Linked DNA regions of Homo sapiens: all the other regions are linked to region 3. The links are contacts of gene promoters, found by promoter capture Hi-C in human tissues and cell types (Jung and others, 2019). All regions are on one chromosome and are shown on one strand. The core of a region is centred on a gene start or on the middle of the fragment in contact, and the rest is flanking DNA. Distances in the headings are between cores, read along the strand shown. Region 1 holds the start of SCARF1 (scavenger receptor class F member 1). Region 2 overlaps WDR81 (WD repeat domain 81). Region 3 holds the start of MYO1C (myosin IC).

The links. Contacts are between HindIII fragments. The study calls those that stand out against the background at their distance.
Region 1: the fragment with the promoter of SCARF1 here is called in contact with the fragment with the promoter of MYO1C in region 3 in 1 of the 25 tissues and cell types used here (pancreas).
Region 2: a contact is called between a fragment that was not itself captured here and the fragment with the promoter of MYO1C in region 3, in 1 of the 25 tissues and cell types used here (dorsolateral prefrontal cortex).

The regions. Positions count from the first base shown.
Region 1 is chr17:1,643,500-1,647,897 of GRCh38, forward strand. It overlaps SCARF1 (scavenger receptor class F member 1), which reads right to left and starts at 2,233. Exons shown (of 11, transcript NM_003693.4): 1 at 2,098-2,233; 2 at 1,679-1,740; 3 at 1,335-1,436; 4 at 1-468. The coding sequence starts at 2,198. It overlaps RILP (Rab interacting lysosomal protein), which reads right to left. Exons shown (of 8, transcript NM_031430.3): 6 at 4,336-4,398; 7 at 3,407-3,490; 8 at 2,651-3,120. The coding sequence ends at 2,943. The HindIII fragment of the contact is 19,188 bases long and covers 1-4,398 here.
Region 2 is chr17:1,728,034-1,732,317 of GRCh38, forward strand. It overlaps WDR81 (WD repeat domain 81), which reads left to right. Exons shown (of 10, transcript NM_001163809.2): 1 at 1-593; 2 at 2,347-2,454; 3 at 2,722-2,912; 4 at 3,035-3,225. Among named protein-coding and RNA genes, the nearest start is that of WDR81, 5.5 kb to the left of the region's middle. The HindIII fragment of the contact is 3,649 bases long and covers 628-4,276 here.
Region 3 is chr17:1,489,598-1,494,082 of GRCh38, forward strand. MYO1C (myosin IC) reads right to left here and starts at 3,089. Exons shown (of 32, transcript NM_001080779.2): 1 at 2,816-3,089. The coding sequence starts at 2,890. LOC105371483 (a long non-coding RNA gene) reads left to right here and starts at 3,190. Exons shown (of 2, transcript XR_934145.4): 1 at 3,190-4,028; 2 at 4,353-4,485. RefSeq lists an enhancer at 1,421-2,140 and silencers at 1,425-1,864, 1,945-2,344. The HindIII fragment of the contact is 10,403 bases long and covers 2,048-4,485 here.

The sequences.
Region 1 (4,398 bases), core at 983-3,482, 150 kb after region 3:
CGCGGAAGCCGGGCGGGCAGGTGCACTCGCCGGAGGCGGCGCTGCAGCGGCCCCGCACACACTCGCACTGCTGCTGGCATTCGGGACCCCACCAGCCCGGCCGGCAGGCGCAGCGGCCGGAGTCCTGCTCGCACGGGGAGCCGTGGCAGTTGCAGCGGAAGCTGCAGCGGCGCCCCCACCAGCCCGGCTTGCACACGCAGGCGCCCGTGGCCTGCTCGCAGCGCGCCGCCGCGGTGTTGCACTGGCACGGGCGGCGGCACGTGGACGACCACCAGCCGGGTTCGCAGTGGCACACGCCGGTCGCGGGGTCGCAGCGCCCGTGGGGGCCGCAGGCGCACGGGAACTCGCAGCGGGCTCCCCAGCGGTCGGCCTGGCACTGGCACGCGCCCGTGGCTGGCTCGCACTGGCCGTGCGGGTGGCAGGGGCAGCTCTCACGGCAGTCGGGGCCCCAGTACTGGCCCGGGCAGCCTGCGGGGGTGGGGACGGGAGGGGTCAGCGGGCTCAGGGCCGCGCGCAGACCCTTACCCTGCGTCCCCTTCCTCAAGGAAAAGGGGCGCTGGGCCCATCCTCCAAGAGCCGGGGACAGACCCTCAGAACATCCGGCAGCCTGTCCTGGGCAACACTCACTTCCTGCTCCGCTCTGACCTACAGAAAACCCTTAGCCATTAGTGGGAGGCTCAGCCTGCCACTTCACATTCCAGAACACACTCAGAGATCCTGAGTGGGCAGGGGACTTGCCCAGAGCGTGGCACCGAGGTTGGTGGGCCTTCCTCCATGCCTGCTCCTCCCTGCCGAGATGGATCTCTGCTGGGCTGGAGGAGAGCTGGCTTTCTCCTGATCTCAGGCCTGGATACTGCCCGCCAGGGTGTCGGGAGAAGCCACCTTTCCCCTAGTGATTCCTTGATTCCTGATGCCCACCCTCTGGCTCTCCTGCTTCCCAACCCCTTTCCCTTCCCTCTCTTTCTGCCAGAGAGGGCAGAGAGCCCAGCCAGGGGCCCCCTTCCATCCACTGCCCATGTATAAGGTATATGTGGGAAAGGCAAGTAATACACTCATTTTACAATGAAGGGGAATCACAGGTTTTCTGAGAAGTGGAAGAGGAAGATGCTCAGGTGGGCAGTGCTTTGTGGATGTGGGTAAAAACCCGGTGACTCAGGTCATCTCCCGGGAGTGTGTGTCACTTCCTGTCTCTGGACCGCAATTCCTCAGTGAAGCTGGGGGGGATTCTGGCCCTGCTGTCCTGAGGCTGCATGGCTACCTGCCTCGCCTGCTCCCACACCACTGCCCCCGTACCCAGCTCTGCCCAGCAACTTCATCTGGCCCTTGAGACTCACGGGAGCTGCAGTGGGCCCCAAAGAATCCAGGCTTGCATCGACAGAGGCCCGGCTTCACACACACCTCGTCTTTCTGGCAGGCGTCCGGCCCCTCACAGATGGCTGAAAGACACCCCACCCAGGTTGGAAAGACGGGAGCAGGACCAGGGGACACCCCTGCCCTCTCACTGGCTCCAGGGGCCATGCCTCCTCAAGAGGTGCCCCTTCAGGCCTGGGGGTGCGTCACAGGAGAAACCCTGACTCCTGGTATCAGGAGGGGCAGGCCCCATGGGGTAGGAAGGAAGGGTTGTCACTGGGCTACGGCCTCCCTTCTCCTTGGCTGAGGGTCTGTCCTGGCTACTCACGGATGGTGCATTCTTGATCCTTCTGCCTCCAGCCTGCGCAGCACTGCAGCTCAGCAGAGGGGCTGTGGGGCAAAAAGGGGTCAGCCGGACATGGTGGGGGGTGCAGCCTGGCCCTGAGGAAGGTGGATCACTGTCTCTGGCTGCAGTGGGGGAGGCTGCCTTAGCCCCCTGGGGAGGCCTAATGGATCTTTACAGCTAGGGTCCCCAGCCCCTCCCCTCTCCTTCCCTGACCCTTCCACCATCTGCCCTGGCTGGCCACTACCTGCCAGACCGCCATCAGCAGTCCCTTCCTTTCAGCCTAAGCCCCCTTCCTAGTCTCCTCCTTCCCCTAACGGCCTCAACACCGGTTCAGCCACCCGCATCAGACTCCCACGAGACCCACCTGCTGGCCACACGCATCAGACTCCCACGAGACCCACCTGCTGGCCACACAGACGTGCTGCCCTTTGGGGTCCAGCTCGGACCCCTGAGTCCCCCGAGTCCAGAGCAGCAGCAGCGGGAGCAGCAGCCCCAGCCCCATGGCAGGCAGCTCGGTGGGAGCGCTCGGGTTCGTCTGGCCCCCACAGCTCCCAACCCCCTCCCTGCTTCCTCTCAGGGCTTTTCCTGAGGAAACCAGGCCGGAGGGGCGGGCTGCCACGAGGCACCTCCCTGAGAGGGAGGGGGTGGCTGGAAAGACTGACACTCAAAAAAAGAAAGGGAAAGAAAGGCAATGGCAGGGCTGACTGGCCTGGGCCTGGAAGGGCCAGAAGAATGAAGTTGCAGGTCCCTGGGTGCCGGGGCCAGGGAAGGGGGTGGACTGAGGCTGGGAGCCACGGCTTTCCATCAGGCCACACTCCCAAAGCAAGGCCTGAGCTGCAAGAAGCCACCCCACCCAGTGACTGAGCAAGGAGACCAGCGAGGACCCCTCAGCCTGCCTCTGCTCCTGGCAGGGTTGGGAGGTGGCACAGACATGGACAGACAGGCGAGGAACAGTTTCTGTGTATTACGGGCAGTTCTTTATTACATGAGCTCAGGCCGTCTGCACAAAGCCCTGGGAGCTAGGCAGTCAGCTCTCATTTCATGGATGGGGAAACTGAGACTCAGAGAGGCACTCTTATATCTGGCCCCAGAGGCTCGGTACAGAGACGTAGAGAGGGAGGCGGGCTGAGACCCCGTCCTGCCCTGATGCAGGCCAGGATTGGGGCAGACCCCTGGCGAGGGCTGTGAAGGCGGGAGCCCTGTCCTCATTTGAGGCCACACATCCTTCCACAGCCAGACCCCTAAGTCAGGCCTCTGGGGCGGCTGAGGCCCCCAGACAAAGGTGTTCGTGGAGGGCAGAACAGGGCGGATCAGGAGCTGGAGACTGTGGTTGGGCCTCCTCTTCTCCCCCTAGCTTGCTGGGTGCAGGGCTGCTGGTCTCATCCTCAGAGGATTCAGCTTTACCCCGATACCATAGGCCAAAGCTGGAGAGAGACAGCCAGAGGCACTTTGAGCCAGGAAGCCAGAGAGGTCAAGGATATGGGTGAGGGCAGGGGATGGTGAGAAAAGGGGAGAGGGGGAAGAAAGGGCAGCCTGAGGGAGTGTGAAGGTGATGGGGGCCAGGGCCAGAGAAGCAGGAGGGGACGGTGTGCTTAGAGCCAAGCACAGCAGGGTGACGGGCAGAGAAGCGGGAAAGGGGATCCTGAGAAGGACCAGCCAGGGCCCTTCCTCCCTCCCCACACTCTTGCCTTTCCCCTTTCCCCAACATACAAACTCTGTATTTTGGACTCCGGGGGTGGGGGATGGTCTCCCTTGTCATCGGAGAGCAGGATCCATGGGCCAGCCTCATCCTCACTGAGACAGAGGAGAGAGGAGAAGTGAGGGCCATTGATCAAGGCCCTGAGGGACAACAGGAATCCAGCAGGGGGGATGGAGGGACTGCAGGGCCCCCGGGGCTGGAGAGAAGGCAACCCTGGGGAGATGCAGGATGTCGAGCCTTTAATTTTTAATTTTTTTTTTTTTGAGACAGGGTCTCACTCTGTCGCCCAGGCTGGAGTGCAGTGGTGCGATCTCAGCTCACTGCAACCTCCGCCTCCCAAGTTCAAGCGATTCTCCTGCCGCAGCCTCCTGAGTAGCTGGGATTATAGGCACATGCCACCATGCCCGGCTAATTTTTGTATTTTTAGTAGAGACGGAGTTTCACCATGTTGGCCACGCTGGTCTCGAACTCCTGACCTCAGGTGATCTACCCACCTTAGCCTCTCAAAGTGCTGGGATTACAGGCGTGAGCCACCGCGCCCTGCCAAGGGTTTATTTTATAGCTTGACACACAGCAGGCCCTGACACAGCCGCGGCTACAGTTTCACCCCCGTAAGAATAAACAGACCCAGCCAAGACAGGAACTTGAAGAATGAATGTGGAGAGGCAGTGTTGTCAGGCAGAATGGATGGCAGGCAAGGCAAGGGGAGTGGTGAGATCCAGGGAGAAGGGCGCAGGCTGGACAGCGGCCATGGGACACAGCCAGAGCAGGTCAGCAGGCCCTAGAAGCGGCCAGGCTAGGGAGGCTCAAGGGGTGACCGGGTTGGGGTGACAGCCTCAGTCTGAGACAATGGGCTCAGAGGGTGACCAGGCTGGGTCATCAGGCTCAGCAGAATGAGGGAGGGAGGCCTGGCTCCGTGGGAATGCAGGCAGGGACCTACCTGCTCTCTGCTTCCTCTGGTGTCCCTAACATCTTGGCCTTGATCTTCTTCCGCTGCTTCCGG
Region 2 (4,284 bases), core at 1,202-3,701, 240 kb after region 3:
GGCAGGGGCTGCTGAGGAGGAGGAGAGCGGGCTGCCCGGGGCCGGGCCTGGCTCCTGTGCTTTTGGGGAGGAGATTCCCATGGATGGGGAGCCTCCTGCCTCCTCGGGCCTGGGGCTCCCAGACTACACGTCTGGCGTCAGCTTCCACGACCAGGCTGACCTCCCTGAGACAGAGGACTTCCAAGCCGGGCTCTATGTGACTGAGTCTCCCCAGCCCCAGGAGGCTGAGGCTGTGAGCCTGGGCCGGCTGAGTGACAAGAGCAGCACCAGCGAGACCTCCCTGGGTGAGGAGCGGGCTCCAGACGAGGGGGGTGCCCCCGTGGACAAGAGCAGCCTTCGATCAGGTGACAGCAGCCAGGACTTGAAGCAAAGCGAGGGCTCCGAGGAGGAAGAGGAGGAGGAGGACAGCTGCGTGGTGCTAGAGGAGGAGGAGGGGGAGCAGGAGGAGGTCACCGGGGCATCTGAGCTCACTCTGTCTGACACGGTGCTGTCCATGGAGACGGTTGTGGCCGGCGGCAGTGGGGGAGATGGAGAAGAAGAGGAGGAGGCACTGCCTGAGCAGTCAGAAGGCAAAGAACAGAAGATCCTCCTTGGTAAGTTCCCAGGTCTGGGAGGTGTTGGTCAAAAACACCTCCTGCTGGCCGAGCACAGTGGTTCACGCCTGTATTCCCAGCACTTTGGGAGGCTGAGGCGGGCGGATCACAAGGTCAGGAGATCGAGACCATCCTAATAACAAGGTGAAACCCCGTCTCTACTAAAAATACAAAAAAATAGCCGGGCGTGGGGGCAGGCACCTGTAGTCCCAGCTACTCGGAAGGCTGAGGCAGGAGAATGGCGTGAACCCGGGAGGCGGAGCTTGCAGTGAGCCGAGATCGCACCACTGCACTCCAGCCTGGGCGACAGAGCGAGACTCCATCTCAAAAAAACAAAACAAAACAAAAAAACAGCTCCTGCTTCTCCCTGCACACTGGCAGAGCACCTACTCTGTGCCAAGCAGTGGATCGAGCCAGGACCACCGGCAACACAAATGTAGGCCTGCCTTCACAGAGCTCACACCCAGCAGACGAGATGCCGCAGTGCAGACAGTCTTAAGCAAGTGTATTATGTTAGTGCGATAAAGAACATGGCTGCATTCCTAGGAGGGAGTGCAACATGGAGCTTTTCGGCCGGGCGCCGTGGCTCACGCCTCTAATCCCAGCACTTTGGGAGGCCGAGGCAGGAGGATCACTTGAGGTTAGGAGTTCGAGACCAGCCTGGCCAACATGGTGAAACCCCATCTCTACTAAAAATACAAAAATTAGCCAGGCGTGGTGGCGGGCACCTGTAATCCCAGCTATTCAGGAGGCTGAGGCAGGAGAATTACTTGAACCCAGGAGGTGGAGGTTGCAGTGAGCTGAGATCACACCACTGCACTGCAGCTTGGGCAACAGAGCGGGACTCCGTCTCAAAAAAGAAAAAAAAAATGGTGCTTTTACATCTAGTTTTCAAGGGTCAGAGCAGGCTTCCTTAAAAGGAGAGACAGTTGAGGTTCAAGGAGGAGTAGGAAGAAGGTAGACAAAAATGGGCAAAAAGAAAGTCTGAAGGCTGAGGGAACAGCATGTGTGAGGCTCTGAGGCTGTCATGTTCCATTAAAGAAGAGAAGCGGGGGACCGGGCGCGGTGCTTCACGCCTGTAATCCCAGCACTTTGGGAGGCTGAGGCGGATGGATCACAAGGTCAGGAGATTGAGACCATCCTGGCCAATATGGTGAAACCCCATCTCTACTAAAAATACAAAAACTTAGCTGGGCATGGTGGAGGGTGCCTGTAATCTCAGCTATTTGGAAGGCTGAGGCAGGAGAATCGCTTGAACCCGGAGGTTCAAGGAGGAGAGTCAGGGCGGTGGAAGGTGGAGGTTGCAATGAACTGAGATTGTGCCATTGCACTCCAGCCTGGGCAACAGTGCGAGACTCTGTCTCAAAAAAAAAAAAAAAGAAGAAGAAGAAGAAGAGAAGCAGGGAAAGGCCGTTATGGCGAGACCGAGGGAGTGGAGGGAAGAGAGGCCAGAGGGAAGGTGGCCAGGGCCGGGCCAGGCCTTGTTAAGGAGTTTCAGAAGACCCACGGGCAGGCTAACTTCCTGCGGGTCGTGCCTGTGGAGAGGAACCTGCGGCAGCCAGAGTCCCACAGGCCAGGGCCTGGGCACCTCTGCCGCTGTTACGTGGAGGGGGTGGTGTGGGACAGCCGGCCCGGGCTGGGCTCTTGGCAGAGCTGCAGCCGCAGGTGGTTGAGTGGGGTGCCGTGGGGTGGGGTGGGAGGGGTGATGAGCCCCTGTTATCTGAGGAGCTCAGGGCCTGCTCCCACCCCGCAGATACAGCCTGCAAGATGGTCCGCTGGCTGTCTGCCAAGCTCGGCCCCACAGTGGCCTCTCGCCACGTGGCCCGGAACCTGCTCCGCCTGCTGACGTCTTGTTATGTTGGTAAGGAGGCCTGCGGTCAGTGCTGGAGATGAGGCTTTCTCCCAGGCCCTCTGCCTAGCTTCAGCGCTCTCCGGCGGGGATCCTTCCCACCCCTCCCTCAAACCACCCCCCGGCCAGGTGCTGGGTCCCAGTCTAAGTGCCAGCCTTGGGTAGGGCCAGGCTGGGCCCCCAGCTAGAGTGAGCTCAAGCGGCCAGCACAGCCCTGCAGGGCCAGGCTACCCCCGGCCCTCCACTGGCGACTCAGGGCTGCTGGCCCTTCCGTGGCAGGACCCACTCGGCAGCAGTTCACAGTGAGCAGTGGCGAGAGCCCACCGCTGAGCGCCGGCAACATCTACCAGAAGAGGCCGGTCCTGGGCGACATCGTGTCAGGGCCTGTGCTCAGCTGCCTCCTCCACATCGCCCGCCTGTATGGGGAGCCTGTCCTCACCTACCAGTACCTGCCCTACATCAGCTACCTGGTCAGTCGCTGGTTTGGCAGGCCCGGGGCTGGGAAGGCTGAGGACCTGAGGGCCGGCCCGGGCTCTCTTGGTGCCAGGGGGTCTGTGGGGCTGCCCGGCCCTCATCTGCTCGGTGGCTCTAGGTGGCCCCAGGGAGTGCCTCAGGCCCCAGCCGACTGAACAGCCGTAAGGAGGCGGGGCTGCTGGCCGCGGTGACGCTGACTCAGAAGATCATCGTGTACCTCTCAGACACCACACTCATGGACATCCTGCCCCGGATCAGCCATGAGGTCCTGCTGCCCGTGCTCAGCTTCCTCACCTCCCTCGTCACGGGGTAGGCCTCTGCCCCAGCTGATGTAGGGGGACCGGCCCAGCGGAGGGGCTGCCCAGGAGGGGGTGGGAAGCTCAGGGGAGAGGACGTAACACTGGACTGGGTGTCAAGAGTCCTGGTTTTGATCCCGGCTGTGTGACCCTGAGCAAACCACACCCTTTTCCTGTGCCTCAGTTTCCTCATCTGGTTTGGACCAGTTGGTCTTGGAGCTCTTTCATTTAAAGCTTTTGATATGTCCGGGCACGGTGGCTCATGCCTGTAATCCCAGCACTTTGAGAGGCTGAGGCGGGAAGATTGCTTGAGCCCAGGAGTTCAAGACCAGCCTGGGCAACAAAATGAGACCCCCTCTCTAAAAATATATATAAAGGCCGAGCGTGGTGTCTCACCCCTGTAATCCCAGCACTTTGGGGGGCCAAGGCGGGTGGATCACGAGGTCAGGAGTTTGAGACCCACCTGGCCAACATGGTGAAACCCCGTCTCCACTAAAAATACAAAATCTTCGCTGGGCATGGCAGCAGGTGCCTGCAATCCCAGGTTCTCGGGAGGCTGCAATCCCAGGTTCTCAGGAGGCTGAGGCGGGAGAATTGCTTGAACCCAGGAAGCGGAGGTTGCAGTGAGCTGAGATCACGCCATTGTACTGCAGCCTAGGCGACAGAGCAAGACTCTGTCTCAAAAAAAAAAAAAAGTATATATATATGCTGGGTGCTGTGGCTCATGCCTGTAATCCCAGCACTTTGGGAGGCCAAGGTGGGTGGATCGCTTGAGGTCAGGAGTTCGAGACCAGCCTGGCCAATATGGCAAAACCCTGTCTCTACTAAAAATACAAAAAAAATTAGCCGGGTATGGTGGCTCATGCCTGTAGTCCCAGCTACTCGGGAGACTGAGGCAGGAGAATCGCTTGAACCCGGGAGGCAGAGGTTGCAGTGAGCCGAGATCGCACCACTGCACTCCAGCCTGGATGACAGAGCAAGACTCCATCTCAATAAAAATAAAAATAAATAAAGATTTTGCTAGATTCTGGTCAAGTCCTGCAGAACGGCGGGCTGGAGCTCATGAGCTCTG
Region 3 (4,485 bases), core at 1,839-4,338:
TGAGCCCAAGAGGTTGAGGCTGCAGTGAGCTGTGATGGTGCTACTGCACTCCAGCCTGGGTACCCCAGAAGACCCAGTGTCAAACAAACAAAGAAACAAAGCAATAAACCCATAACATGTTAACATAAATTTGTATGGGGGAAAAAAAAAAGTAAACGGCCCAGGAGCGGTGGCTCATGCCTGTAATCCCAGCACTTTGGGAGGCCAAGGCAGGCAAGATCACTTGAGGTCAGGAGTTCCAGACCAGCCTGGCCCACATGGTGAAACCCTGTTTCAACTAAAAATACAAAAAATTAGCAGGGTGTGGTGGCACACGCTTGTAATCCCAGCTACTTGGGAGGCTGAGACAGGAGAACTGCTTGAATCCTGGAGGAAGAGGTTGCAGAGAGCTGAGATCATGCCACTGCACTCCAGACTGAGTGACAGAGACACTGTCTCAAAAAAAAAAAAAAAAAAAGAGGGCCTTTGACCCCTAACCTGTACTCCCTGTTTAATGTCCTTGTAGAGAGAAGGGTGGCACTGTTTGAGCTGGTCATCACAGCCTGGCATTAACAGGCCTGCTCTCCTGCCTCCACTCCTCACACCAAGTAGTCACGACCTGCTAAAACCTCACCTCCAGGCCGGGCGCGGTGGCTCAGGCCTGTAATCCCAGCACTTTGGTAGGCCTAGGCAGGTGGATCACAAGGTCAGGAGATTGAGACCATCCTGGCTAACACGGTGAAACCCCGTCTCTACTAAAAAAAAAAAAAAATTAGCTGGGCGCGGTGGCACACACCTGTAATCCCAGCTACTCAGGAGGCTGAGGCAGGAGAATAGCTTGAACCCGGCAGGTGGAGGTTGCAGTGAGCAGAGGTCGCACCACTGCATTCCATCCTGGGCAACAGAGCGAGACTCCATCTCAAAACAAAACAAAACAACAACAAAAACAAACAAAAACCTCACCTCCATCACTGCTCCTTACCTGGGCCAAGACAGCAGCCTAACTGGCCTCCTTGCCTTCCTCCTACCAATCCATTTCCTCTGGGGCAACACAAATCAAATCAACACCTCATGTTCATAGAGTGAAGGTTTAGGACACCCTCCATATGCCAGGCCCATGATTCACACTCACTGCTGCTTACCAGGACCCTGCCTATGAACTCCCGAGACCCCCCTGCTGTCCCCAGTTTACCCCACTGCTCCTGCATTCCGATGTGCCAGATGGCCCGCTCCAGTCCCCTCTCCCCCCACCCCTCCCCCCAGGAGGGGGCCTTCGCACCGTCGCCAGCCAGTCCAAGCTTCAGTGCCTGCACCTGCGGCTTCCCCAGCCCGGGGCACTCTCCCTGCCCACCTCACTGAGACTCGGCTCAGGTGTCACCTCCTCCAGAACCCCTTCCTGATTCTCCCAAACACGCAGCGCCTCCTTATCGCACCCCGCAGGAATCAGCTGTTTCCTTGTCAGTCCCTCCCAGGAGACGGCTCCCACTCCCTACACGCAGCGAGGCACACGGTGGGGCTCAGTCACCCCTTCCCGGACCCCTGGATGAATGAATGAATCTCAGAGCCAGGCGTGTGCGCGGGAGGCCGGAGCGTGAGGACTGAGGGCCGCGTGGCCATCCTCCTTCTCCGGCCACCCCGGAGCCCCCCGCCCGTCACACTCGGGGCGCGCTGGGCCCCAGGGGCGGAGAACGGGAAGGGGCGGGTTTAGGCGGCTTCTCCGGAACCCAGAGGCGGAGCAGGGCTGCGGGCGGGGCCCGAAGGGCGCGCAGGGTCCTGGGTCCTGCAGCCCAGGCCGCTCTTCCCCGCCTCCCGCTCCCCGCAGGTAAATCTAAGTCTCCACCAGGCTGCGCCGGCGCCTCCGGGTCGTGGGACCCCCCCCCCCCGCACGGGTCCACGCGGCCGTTCTTCGGCCCCAGCGATCCCCGGCCGTGACCCCTGCCTCGTGCACGGCGGCTCCCGGCCCGGCCGCCCGCTCCCCACACCCGCCCCCCGCGGCCGCCGTCCCCGCGCCCCGAGTACCCACCGGCGTGGCTCTTCCGGCGCGGGCGGGGCCGGGCTGGGCGGCGTGGCGGGCTTGGGGATCCGCGGCCCGGGCGCACTCTCCCCGCCCAGGGCCCGCCGGGGGCCGGGCCGCAGCCTGTCGTCATCCCGGGCAGGGCCGCGCACCCTCCGGCCCCGCCCCGCCCCGCCTCAGCCCCGGCCGCGTCCGCGAAGCCTCGGTGCGTGCGGCCCCCGCCTCGGCCCGTTCCCGGGGCCACAGCGAACACGCGCGCGCCCCTCCGGCCGAAGACCCGGCTCCCCGCCGCGCTGCTGGGGGCGTGGGGGCGCCCGACTTTCTCCCTCCTCCGGGCCCTTTGCATCTCCAGCCCCTTCCTGCGGGCCGGGCCAGGGCCGCGCTCCCCCGTTTCTACCCACCCGTGACCCTTCACCCACCTCCCACACCGTCCTTCTGTTCTGAGTCTTGGGCGGTCCCAGCCCTGCGGACTGGAGAGGAGCGGGGCGTTGACTGAGCCTGGAGCTTCCATGCCCTGGTCCTTCGACCTCACAGCAGCCGGCACTTGCCTTTTGTGCCCAGTATTCACGGTTCTGCCCACTGAGGTTCGGGAAGCCGGGGAAGAGTCAAGCCCAGACCTCCACTTCCAAAAATCCTGCTGCTAGTGGCCCTTGCATCCTTACTCTTCCACTCACCCCGTCTTGTTCAGTCTGTTCTGGCCCCGCCAAGGATCGGAACCCCTCCCCGCTGCTCAGCTCTTGCCCGAGGGCTCGCCTGAGAGGGGCTGCCCGGCCTTGGGGAGACGCTCCCACCCTCCTCCCAGCCCAGAGCATCCCAGCTTACAAGCTTGCAGGGCCTGTGGGGATGAACCACGCGGATGATCTCCCCGGTGGGTACCAGCTCCACTTGCAGCGCCATTCCGCCCTGCGGAGAGCCAGCGGCCTGGGCACCGCGGCCTGTGAGCAAGAGCTGCCTGCCCACTGGCGGGCTCCGACCACTCCGGGACCAGGAACCTACGGTCTAACGCCGGGATGGCCACTTGGTTCTGCTTCAACTGCAGCCCCAGGGGATGTGGCTGGTCCAGCTCCTCAGGACACGGCTGGAGCCGTCCAGGTCTGACTGGGAGGCCTCTTGGCCCGGATGGTTGGAGCAGGAAGAGGAGGGGCTGGGGATGGAGGAAATGCCTGTTGTCCCAGGTAACCAGAGGAGCCGATGCAGCCACCCATGGGGGACCCTGGGCTCCAGGTCAAAGGCTAGGACGCCTTTCCCCTTCCCCCCATCCCCACGGCAGCTCTATGGCTGGGCCCCTCCTCCTGCCCACTCTCTGGTACCACCTAGAGAGCACGGGGCCCACTCCCCAAACCAGACGGCATGCCCTCCCCTAGGCCAAGAGGACCCGTTAGTAGGCACTGGCTTTCCTGCACATCCCCTCAACGGGGCTGCCCCCCACAGCAGGTGAGCCCCCACCATGAGTTTGAGAGACCAGGGCTGCTGGGGCCTGGTCATGCAGGGCCCGGACAGGGGGCTGTCCCGCTGTGAGGAAGCTCTTGGCTTACCCTCCTCTGAGCCTCAGAGCTTGTGAGGTTAGTTCCTGGGTTCCCTGGGTGTGGGCAACCTCTAGCCCTGTTCATCCCTTGCGTTTCAACAGTACCCCCAGGTGACCCCCACCCCTGATGTTCCTGCTTTTCTATTTTTATTGTTGCTAAATCACAGCTGACACTTTCCTGGCCTGAGACTGAGCCCTCCAGTCTCCAGCCATTCCTTATAGGAAGTAAGAACAGGGAAGTGGATAGGGGAAACAGACCTTTCCAGAGGGAGAGGCTGGCATAGGAAGGGCTGAGTCCCGTGGGTGTGTGCTGGCACCGACAGCCCCATAGGCAGGGGCCTTCCCCCCGGCACCCTTCTCTCTCCCCACAGCTTCCCCCGCCCCGGAAAAGCTAGCAAGCCTTCCTTCCTTCCTCCGGGAAGCACATCTATCCAGAGCAGGCTCATCCCCGGCGGCCACACAATGGCCCTTATCAGCCGTGGAGCCAGGCGTAGACCCAGTGCACACCAGGTCTCACTTATTTCCTGTTTCCACCCAGTGGGTCGGGGTGGACCCAGAACGGCCATATCCTGACTGGGGCCCAGAGGACGGAGAGCACCCCCCATTCCCCTTTCCGCCTCTCAATCACTGCTGGGCTCACCCCTCCCACACAGGAGGCTGGGTGTGTGGCGACCTCAGTTCACCACGGGGGAGGTGAGCATGTGGGGGGACCCCTGGGGTCAAGCCCCGGGGCCGCATTAATCAGAACGGGGAGGCGGGTCTAGTGCGATACACTTTCTGCAATTGTTCTCCCACAGTAATCTTGAGAATAGGGACATCATCTGTATTTTACAGACTACTGAGACCGCTCTGCGGGTGGGTTCAGACCCCATTCCTGTTTCTGGTCCTGTGGGAAACCACAGGTGCCTGGAACTTTGAAGAGACTGTACCACTTCTCTGAGCCTTGGCTTTCCCATCTGCCCAATGA